Regions from separate parts of the Homo sapiens genome. Here region 1 is linked to region 2. The links are contacts of gene promoters, found by promoter capture Hi-C in human tissues and cell types (Jung and others, 2019). All regions are on one chromosome and are shown on one strand. Each heading gives the region's core, a stretch centred on a gene start or on the middle of the fragment in contact. The rest is flanking DNA. Distances are from core to core; before and after follow the strand shown.

What was found. The method cuts DNA at HindIII sites, captures the fragments that hold promoters and counts their contacts. A contact is called where the count stands out against the background at its distance.
Region 1: a contact is called between a fragment that was not itself captured here and the fragment with the promoter of DDI1 in region 2, in 2 of the 25 tissues and cell types used here (adrenal gland and mesendoderm cells).

Annotation. Positions count from the first base shown.
Region 1 is chr11:103,900,779-103,905,290 of GRCh38, reverse strand. It overlaps PDGFDDN (PDGFD downstream neighbor), which reads left to right. Exons shown (of 4, transcript XR_947960.3): 1 at 1-611. Among named protein-coding and RNA genes, the nearest start is that of PDGFDDN, 3.8 kb to the left of the region's middle. RefSeq lists enhancers at 561-730, 1,151-1,240. The HindIII fragment of the contact is 4,922 bases long and covers 1-4,512 here.
Region 2 is chr11:104,033,922-104,038,614 of GRCh38, reverse strand. DDI1 (DDI proteasomal shuttling factor 1) reads right to left here and starts at 1,975. Exons shown (of 1, transcript NM_001001711.3): 1 at 1-1,975. The coding sequence starts at 1,792. The coding sequence ends at 602. The region is part of intron 1 of PDGFD (platelet derived growth factor D); the gene reads left to right. The HindIII fragment of the contact is 14,414 bases long and covers 1-4,693 here.

The DNA of each region.
Region 1 (4,512 bases), core at 1,174-3,673, 130 kb after region 2:
CCTACAATACAAGTTCCCTTTTAAGAACTAAGGTCTCTAACCTGTTTCTGGTTGAGGTCATAGTATAAATTTCTCCTCTTCAGGCCTTCTAGTGTCTTTCTAGACTTTCCTTTCTCCCTGTGTCTCCCACAGGCTTCCTTTCTCACCTGCCTCTACTTGTCAGTCTTCAAATCAGAGAAAATCAGGATCAATATCTGCTTTGGGAAAGACAGGAGATAGATCAGTCGAGGAGATCAACTGCATGGTTACCCAAGTGAGCAATTAATAGGGTAAAATTCCCAACTGCTTTAAGAAATCACTGCTTTTTGAGAGTCAAACACATCAGGTGCATATTTTTCAGTACTGTCCACTTTGGTGCAAACTTCAGGATATGGTGGTAGATATTTGTTGACTTCTGTCAATAGAAATTTAGCCACAGTCAATATGGGGAAAATTGACTAAATTACATGTTTCATTCATTCATTCAACAGCAAATACATTAAAGCCCGCTATGTATCAGACATGCTTTGAGGCTTGAAACACAAGATTCACAACAGAGGATAAAACTAGAGAAAGATATTCTAGGTAAGATCAACAGGAAGAACAAAGGTCTCCCAGCAAAAATGCATAAGGTAAGTGTGGGCAGTTCAGAAAATATAAAGTGATCGAAAGGAAAGAAAAGGAAACTGTAGGCAAATGAATTTAGTCTTTTACATTTAGTAAAGGAAGCTCCATGAGGACCTCTGAGCACAGTGGGGGCTGTATGTGTCATAGAGCACCAGACAGAAAGTTAGAAGGTCTTGGTTGTAGTGACTAGCCTGCCACTTTCTAAACCTATGTTTCCTCATTTACACACTCAGATATGTAAGATGTTCTGGAGGTGTCTTCCGGCAGAACAATTCTGCAATTCTGCATTTTCGAAAATGGGTCTACAGAAAGAGTAGGGATTGGGCTATGAGTTATGAGGCTCCTTGAAGTTCTAGGGGTGAGACAATAAGGATAAAGCGAGACTTCAGAGACAGGAAGGGAAGTTTGCCCCTGTGGTTGTTCAGGCTGTGCACTACAAATCTCTAGGGGTTGCTATTTGCATGAACTAAGATGACAAGACAGGTTAAGAGGTTTCAAAGTTCTTTGTGGTTGGATGGGCTGGAGGTGCAGGCTTGGAGATCTCCTGTAGGAAGAAGTCATGTGAGTTCAAGAGAATTCTTGTGGGAAAACCAGGGAGGCAGGAAGGAGGGGTGAATTTTGCAAGCATGTCTCCAAGAAGAGGAGCCAGGTCTTGTAACATTGAAAGGGAGTCATTCTCAGGGTCAAAGCTGAAACCATAAGAAGATACACAGAACCTGAAAGACCTCCATAACCATTAAGAGGGAAGAAGACTAGTTTCTAAAGCTCATAAAAATGTGTTCTGAAAAGGTATTAAGTACTGACTGAGGGCTAAAGGTCCAGCCCTGTGCTAAATACAGCAGATTCACAGGAAAATAAAACAAACGTATTTCCTGCCTTTATCAAGCTAGAGAAGACATTACATGAGGCTAGAGAAGACTAGACACTAAACAAATAATTACATATGTAACCCAATACATTTGTGAAAAGCAAAAGCATAATGTGTGATGACAGTAAAAGGTGGAATCCAGATCAGAGGACAAGGAAGGGTTCTGTGAGAAGATGACATTAGAGCAGGAACAGAAAGTTGAATAAATGTTAGAAGCAAAGTGAAAGGAGAGTGTGACATTAAATGGTAGCAATAAAAATGAAAAAAAATCTAGCTATATTAAAGAAATAGTTTGAATCTTTAATTTATCAGAGTTGGGGATATATTAGACTGAGGCAAAAGAAGATAGAAGATAGCAAGGATTTTTCCAAGGCTTCTGGCATAACAAACTGTGCAGATAGAGGTGCCATTTATTGAGATGGGGGACATGCAAAGAGAAGGAGATTTAGGATAGATTAAGAATTCAGTGTGAGGTATTAATTCCAAGTGACATTTGATATATCCAATTGGAGATATTAAGTAGGCAGTTAGGTCTGTGGGTCTGGAGCTAAGAAGAAGGGTCTGAGACAGATGTAAATTTAGAAGTCAGCAATATACAGTGGTATTACAAAACACAGGAACAGTCCAGATACTTAGGGGAGGGTGAAAACTGAAAGGGGAAGAATCACAGGGCAATTGTGAGAATATAAAAATGTTCTAAGTGCCAGAGGAAGAAATTGTTGCAAAGAGTCTGGGTCAGTTTTATCGACTATGGCAGAGAAGGTATGAGAAACACCTACAGATTTATCTGCTCAGAAATACTCCTTTCTTTTATTTTTATTTTTATTATACTTTAAGTTTTAGGGTACATGTGCACAACGTGCAGGTTTGTTACATACGTATACATGTGCCATGTTGGTGTGCTGCACCCATTAACTCATCATTAACATTAGGTATATCTCCTAATGCTATCCCTCCCCCCTTCCCCCACCCCACAACAGGCCCCAGTGTGTGATGTTCCCCTTCCTGTGTCCATGTGTTCTCACTGTTCAATTCCCACCTATGAGTGAGAACATGCGGTGTTTGATGTTTTGTCCTTGCGATAGTTTGCTGAGAATGATGGTTTCCAGCTTCATCCATGTCCCTACAAAGGACATGAACTCATCATTTTTTATGGCTGCATAGTATTCCATGGTGTATATGTGCCACATTTTCTTAATCCAGTCCATCATTGTTGGACATTCAGGTTGGTTCCAAGTCTTTGCTATTGTGAATAGTGCCGCAATAGACATACATGTGGATGTGTCTTTATAGCAGCATGATTTATAATCTTTTGGGTATATACCCAGTAATGGGATGGCTGGGTCAAATGGTAAGAAATACTCCTTTCTAACCCTAATCTCTTTTCTGAGAGATTCCTCTTCATCTATAGCAGTATTGTCCAATAGAACTTCTTGCGATGATGGAGATGTTCTATATCTGTTCTAAGAGAGCAGCTAATAGCCACACTTGGCTGCTGAGCACTGGAAGCATGACCAGTGTGGCTGAAGATTTTTAAATTTTATTTAATTTTACTTAATATTTAAATATAAATTGCCACATGTGACAAGTGGCTACTGTATTAGGCTATGCAGTTGTAGATTTAATTATCACCCAGAGTTGTAGCCAGAATACTACACACTTCACAGTACCACACACACGTTCTAGTCACAGCCAGGGGCACCTGACTCAAGCTTTCTCAGGATGTATGGGCCTGAGGAGAGATTCAGACAGTCTCCTTGGTTATTTGGATGGTAGGATGTGAAAATCAATGGCTATTGGCAGCCATACTCTCTGCCATGTAGACTAAATATCTAGAGAAAGTTAAACTATAAAGGAAAAGAAGGAAGAAAGACACAAACACACAGAAAGTCCTGAGGGAGTCCCTCCTTCTCATTAGTTCTGATGTCTGGCCAAACCCGTCTCTGGTTCTCTGAGAATGTCATATGGTGGAAATGTGAGTCAGATGATAAGATATTTGGAGGGAGGAATTGTGATTACATGAAAATGCTGAGTGAAAACCACTATCTCAAGGAGTTGATAGGTGAGTGAAAAGAGAACTGCAGTTAGCCCTTTATATCCACAGGTTCCACATCTATAGATTCAACCAACAGCAGATGAAAGATATTTGGAAACATGAAAAATATAATACAACTATAAAAATAATAAAAACTGGCCAAGTTCAGTGGCTCACACCTGTAATCCCAACAATTTGGGAGGCCAAGGCAGGCGGATCACTTGAGGTCAGAAGTTTGAGACCAGCCTGGCCAACATGGTGAAACCCTGTCTCTACTAAAAACACAAAAATTAGGCATGGTGGTGCACTCCTGTAGCCCCTGCTACTCAGGAGGGCGAGGCACGAGAATCTCTTGAACCAGGAAGCAGAGGCTGCAGTGAGCAAGATTGCTCCACTGCACTACAGCCTGGGTGACAGAGCAAGACTCCATCTCAAAAATAAATAAAATAATTAATTAATTTAATTAAATAATAATTAAAACAGCACAGTATAACAACTATTTACATGGTATTTATATTGTGCTAGGTGTTATAAGTAATCCAGAGATGATTTAAATCGTATGGGAGGATGTGCATAGGTTATAGTAAACACTGCGCCATTTTAGATAAGGGACTTGAGCATCCCCAGATTTTGGTATCCTCAGGGGTCCTGAAACGAATCCCCTGTGGATATCAAGGGACAACTGTACATTAAATTATTGTTGTCTGTGGCACTTGTGTTCTATGAAGTTGCCAGATTCACTGAATTAGCAAATACTGTTTTCACTGCTGCTCAGAGAAATCCTGGCTTAGGGTTGTGCAAGCCTCTGGTCACATTTTCATCAACTTTCAGACGGTCCACCAGTCTACTTGGTTATTGTGTGCTTCTGGTTAAGAATTCTTTATTTAATATATATTGTTGATTCATTAAAATTGAACTCATGGCCAACAGCATTATAACCCATGCCTGAACCAAGCTTACCTAACACATATTTTTTTCCATAAGGTACTTCACAGCCTTATTG
Region 2 (4,693 bases), core at 726-3,225:
TGACTGCAGGGGATCCAGGGGAAGGGAAGGTGTAAATATGAGGAAATTGGTCTTTATGCTGCCCCAAACAGACATGTATAAGTATTAGTTAACATCATAGTGTAACTGACCTACCATTTCTAATACCCTTCCCAAAGAAAACAAAACCTGTGAAAATGGGCATATTTCTCTCAGTAGAAAGAATTATTAGTGCTGATGTGAAATAGTTTTATGTGGATGCCTTGTAAGGTCTGCAGCCATAGCATTTTTCCAGGGAATTCTGCAAAATAGCAATGATTTGGATAAGCCACCTGTAATCTGATAGGATAGTGTCTCTAAAGGAAGAAGCTGGTTTTCTTTTTCATGGATTATCTGGAAATCAGCTGGAGCCTCCAGAGCCTTCCCAGGATGCCTTTCAGTGATCTCTGGACAAGGGAAATGGAAGAGGGACCAAGACCAAGGAATCAGGATTGACGTTAGTTACCCATCTGAGAACGTAGTCCCAAGGCCAGGTTTAGTTGTTACTGATGTTTTTTAATGATTACATTGCCAGTAAGCTCTTAACTTATAATTGCCGGGGACCTGAGGCTCCCTCAAGGTGGTAACATATTTATAACGTGCTTTAATGCTCTTTTCGTCCTGAATCCATGACTGAATGTGTAATTTCCTTGTCCGAAGACTCATCTTGCCCACTTACCATCCTAGAGCATAAGGGCAACTCTCCCTCAGGAAGAAAATAAGTCTGCGTGCCAGTGGTGCCGATGACCAGCACATTTTTCTTCAAATCGATGGAACATTGATGTCTCCGGAGCATATCTAGGCCTAGAAGCATATCCATGGGTTGATCCTCAAGTATGGAGAAAGAGCACTGTAAGAAATCACCTTCAATTTGAATCTGAGCTAGATGAACACGGCCAATAATTCTCTGTGTGCCCACTCCTTTAGCAACCCCAGCCCACCGTCGGTCCACCAGCCTCATGATGTTACATCGCTCGGCACAAGCCTGGCTCATAATGGTCATCTGGGCGCCCGAGTCAACAAAAGCCTTCAAAGGATGCCCATTCACTTTGCAGTTAATGTAGAGCATCGTCACTTGTCCAAAACTCTCGGGGGCCTCTTCTATCGCTATATTCATGTTTTCTTCAATGTTTTGCTGCCGGATTTCCTCTTCTATTTTGGCCTGAGCTTCCCGATCCAGTGGGTCGGCTGTGTAGAGACGAAGCCTCTCTTGCTCTCTCAAGGCCTTTTCCCTTTGCTGCTCCATCAGCACCTGAGAAAAGGTCTCAAGGCTTCCGCTGAGCAGGGCTTCCGCCAAGGGAGGGTTGCGTTCCTTGAGCAGGGACAGATCGTGGGGGTTGGAGAGCAGCATGCTGCGGATCAGGGCGGGGCTGCCCAGACCTTGCAGGCCGGCCACCTTCTCTCCTGACGCCAAGCCCTGTGACCGCTGGGCAGCGGGTGTGCGCTGCTGCTGCTGTCCAGGGTGCTGTGGACGGGAGCTGGACGTCCCAGGCACCGCAATGCCACTGAAGTCTACACGAGGCTGGTTCGGGGCACGCCCTGGAGCCCGAGGTCCCACATTGTCCTTCTGCAGTAAAACCACGATATCGCCATCTTTGAGGCCGTAGGAGCCCAGGGAACAGTGGTCCTCGATGAGGAGTCGCTCCATGTGGATGATCTGGATCTCTTCGACGGGGACTCTGGACTCCGCTTCGCAGAGGACCTTGAAGTTTCGGAGCTCAAAGTCGGGGCTGACCTGGAGAGAGAAGGTGACCTCGGAGAGGTCCCTCCGCACGCAGTACACGGTGATCAGCATGGCGGGGGCCCGGGCGGGCCGGGCTAGCAGAGGGCATGGGCGGCTCACTGGCGGGCTGGGGCGGGCCTGCGTCGTTGGTGCCGCTGCTCCTCAGGACTTGGTAGGTAGGGACCGTCCGGGCTCATTCACCTCTCAGAGAGGCGCGGACACTCATCTGTCTGGGGGCTGTCTCCCAGCCTCAGTGCCTGCTGTGTGGCCAGGTGGAGCCTTGAGGTAGCACGTTGTGTTCCAAAGTCCATTTCTAAGTGTGCTGTTTGGAACCTAGAATGCCTACTCCCATGGATACACGATGGCTCAAAGCTGTCAGGTTTCAAGGCCAGCCCTTCAAAGCCTATTTAACACATGATATGAAAGAAATGATTTCAACACATTTTTTTTTGAGACAGGATCTTATCCTGTCACCCAGGCTGGAGTACAGTGGCATAATCACAGCTCACTGTAGCCTCGACCTCGTAGGCTCAAGCAGTCCTCCTCTCTCAGCCTCCTGAAAAGCTGGAACTACAGGCACAGTCTACCATGCCCGGCTAATTGTTGTATTTTTTTTTAATAGATTTGGGGTCTCACTGTGTTGTCCGGGCTGGCCTCCAACTCCTGGGCTCAAGCAATCCCCCACACTTCGGCCTCCCAAAGTGCTGGAATTACAGGTGTGAGCCACCATGCCTAGTTTTTCAACACTTTCTAAACAGCATATTATCATTTGTTTTGTTCATTTTAGAGTTGTATTCTTTGTACTTTTGTTTTTTCCCCAAACAGTAAGGATTTGTTTCTTACATGGCAAGTACCATTCTATGTGCATAGTAGGAAAGTCAGATTTGGAGCCTGCCCTTGAGGAGCTCACATTTCTGGAAAGGGATAGACAGGTGAATGGGTAATCACAATACTAAAGGCAAAATCTTTTACAAAGACATGTTCAGGGTACTGCCTTTAGTATCACCAACAGAACAGAGGATATTTTCCTAAGGAGGAGACAAGCTGGATGTTGAAGGATGAGCATCTTCCAGGTGCAAAGTGGTCTCACTCCAAAGGAAAGCAGTTTCATGTTACAAAAGCAGGAATTTATGGCAAGGGCTGTTATTTCTAGAGAAAGATGAGACATTTTGTGCAATAAAAAAATTGTACATGACTTTGAATACCAGGATATGAAGCTGGAAAAAAATTAGTTGAGCCAATTGATGAAGTCATATGTGAATCTACGGAGTTTAAATATTAAATATTATCAATTAGCAAGAATTCCTCCTCCAAAAAAAAAAAAAAAAAAAAAGAAAAAGAAGTAAGGAAGGAAAGGAAAGGGAAAAGATTTGAAGCAGGTGTTTGTGATTTTTTTTTTTAAATTGACTTAAGGAAGAGGCTTCTTGCAACACATGGAGGACATAATGTGGCAGGAGGGCCAGTCAGGAGGCTTTTCCAGTGGTTCAAAGAGGGAGCTGTTGCTAGAGTGTGGAAAGTCAGGAGGCCCAAAGCCAAAGCAGTAGAGAATAAACATGTTTCTTGAGTAAAATGGACAGAGTGTGCATACCCCTTGGAGGTGGGGAGTGTAAAAAAGTGGAATGTGTGGATAACACAGAGGGTCTCTAAAATGGGATATAGGGTAGATGGGCCATTGCCTTGAAGGGGAATGAATGAATGAGTGAGATGAACCTTTGAGGTGACCCATTTGACATCAGTTCTGTAGGAAAATTCATTAAGGATGCCACCCTAGAGGCCAATATGCCTCTCTCTGACATTTGGGCACAGCCACCTTCTCCCTACTCTCCCCCACCCCCACTTACACACACACACATACAAGGCTGTCATGGTGAAAAGTCCTTCAAGGCAAATGATGATTGGGTAGAAATCCTTGCATGCCAGTTATTTTTCTCTATGTTTAATAAAGTGTTTTGCTGCCTGGCGCGGTGGCTCATGCCTGTAATCCCAGCAGTTTGGGAGGCCAGGGTGGGCGGATCAAGAGGTCAGGAGATCGAGACCATCCTGGCTAACATGGTGAAACCCTGTCTCTACTAAAAATACAAAAAATTAGCCAGGCGTTGTGGTGGGCGCCTGTAGTCCCAGCTACTCGGGAGGCTGAGGCAGGAGAATGGCATGAACCTTGGAGGTGGAGCTTGCAGTAAGCCGAGATTGCGCCAGTGCACTCCAGCCTGGGTGACAGAGCGAGACTCCATCTCAAAAAAAAAAAAAAAGTGTTTTGCACTGTGCAGAGCTCATGTTTCCCTGGCTTGGTACTCCCAGGTGTACCTACTTATGAACCAAGATAGTCGATATCCTCTGCCTAGTTTCACCCCCTTCTTTGAAGGGTTGTTAGAAGGCCTGCACTGTTACACCATTATTCCATTATGGAGAGAAGGAAGTCACATCAGCCTAAATAATTATTTTTTGGCTCCTGTTTCTCATGTATTTGTCTCAGATGGAAGACTATGTCTCGCTCACTGCTCTAATTATCATAATGTTTCTATACTCATATTTGCTTATATTAGAAATGTTGACTGAACGCCCAGTGTATGTGAAGCATGTGCTAAGTTCTAGGGAAACAGACGTGAATAATGTTAAATATAGGCTGTATTCTTAAAGGAGCTCACAGTCTAAATTAGAGCACATGCACACACACAAATTGAAGGGTAAAAAATACCACAGTAGTGGTATTCAGGAGAAATTAATAATATCTGAAGAAGAGATGAAGAAGATGGTGAGGGATGTTGGGGAGAGAAGACATCCTGAAAGAACTGGGTTTAGAAAGATGACAAGGAGTCAGCCATGCAGGGTGCGCCAGAGTGGAGACACAAAGGTGAGAAGGAAGATGACCTGACTTAGAGCTTTCAACTGGAAAGACAGTGTTTCATCATATAAGGATTATTTTTTAATTTTAAGAAAAAAAATCTAGCATTGTAATTTTCACCATTTTTACAG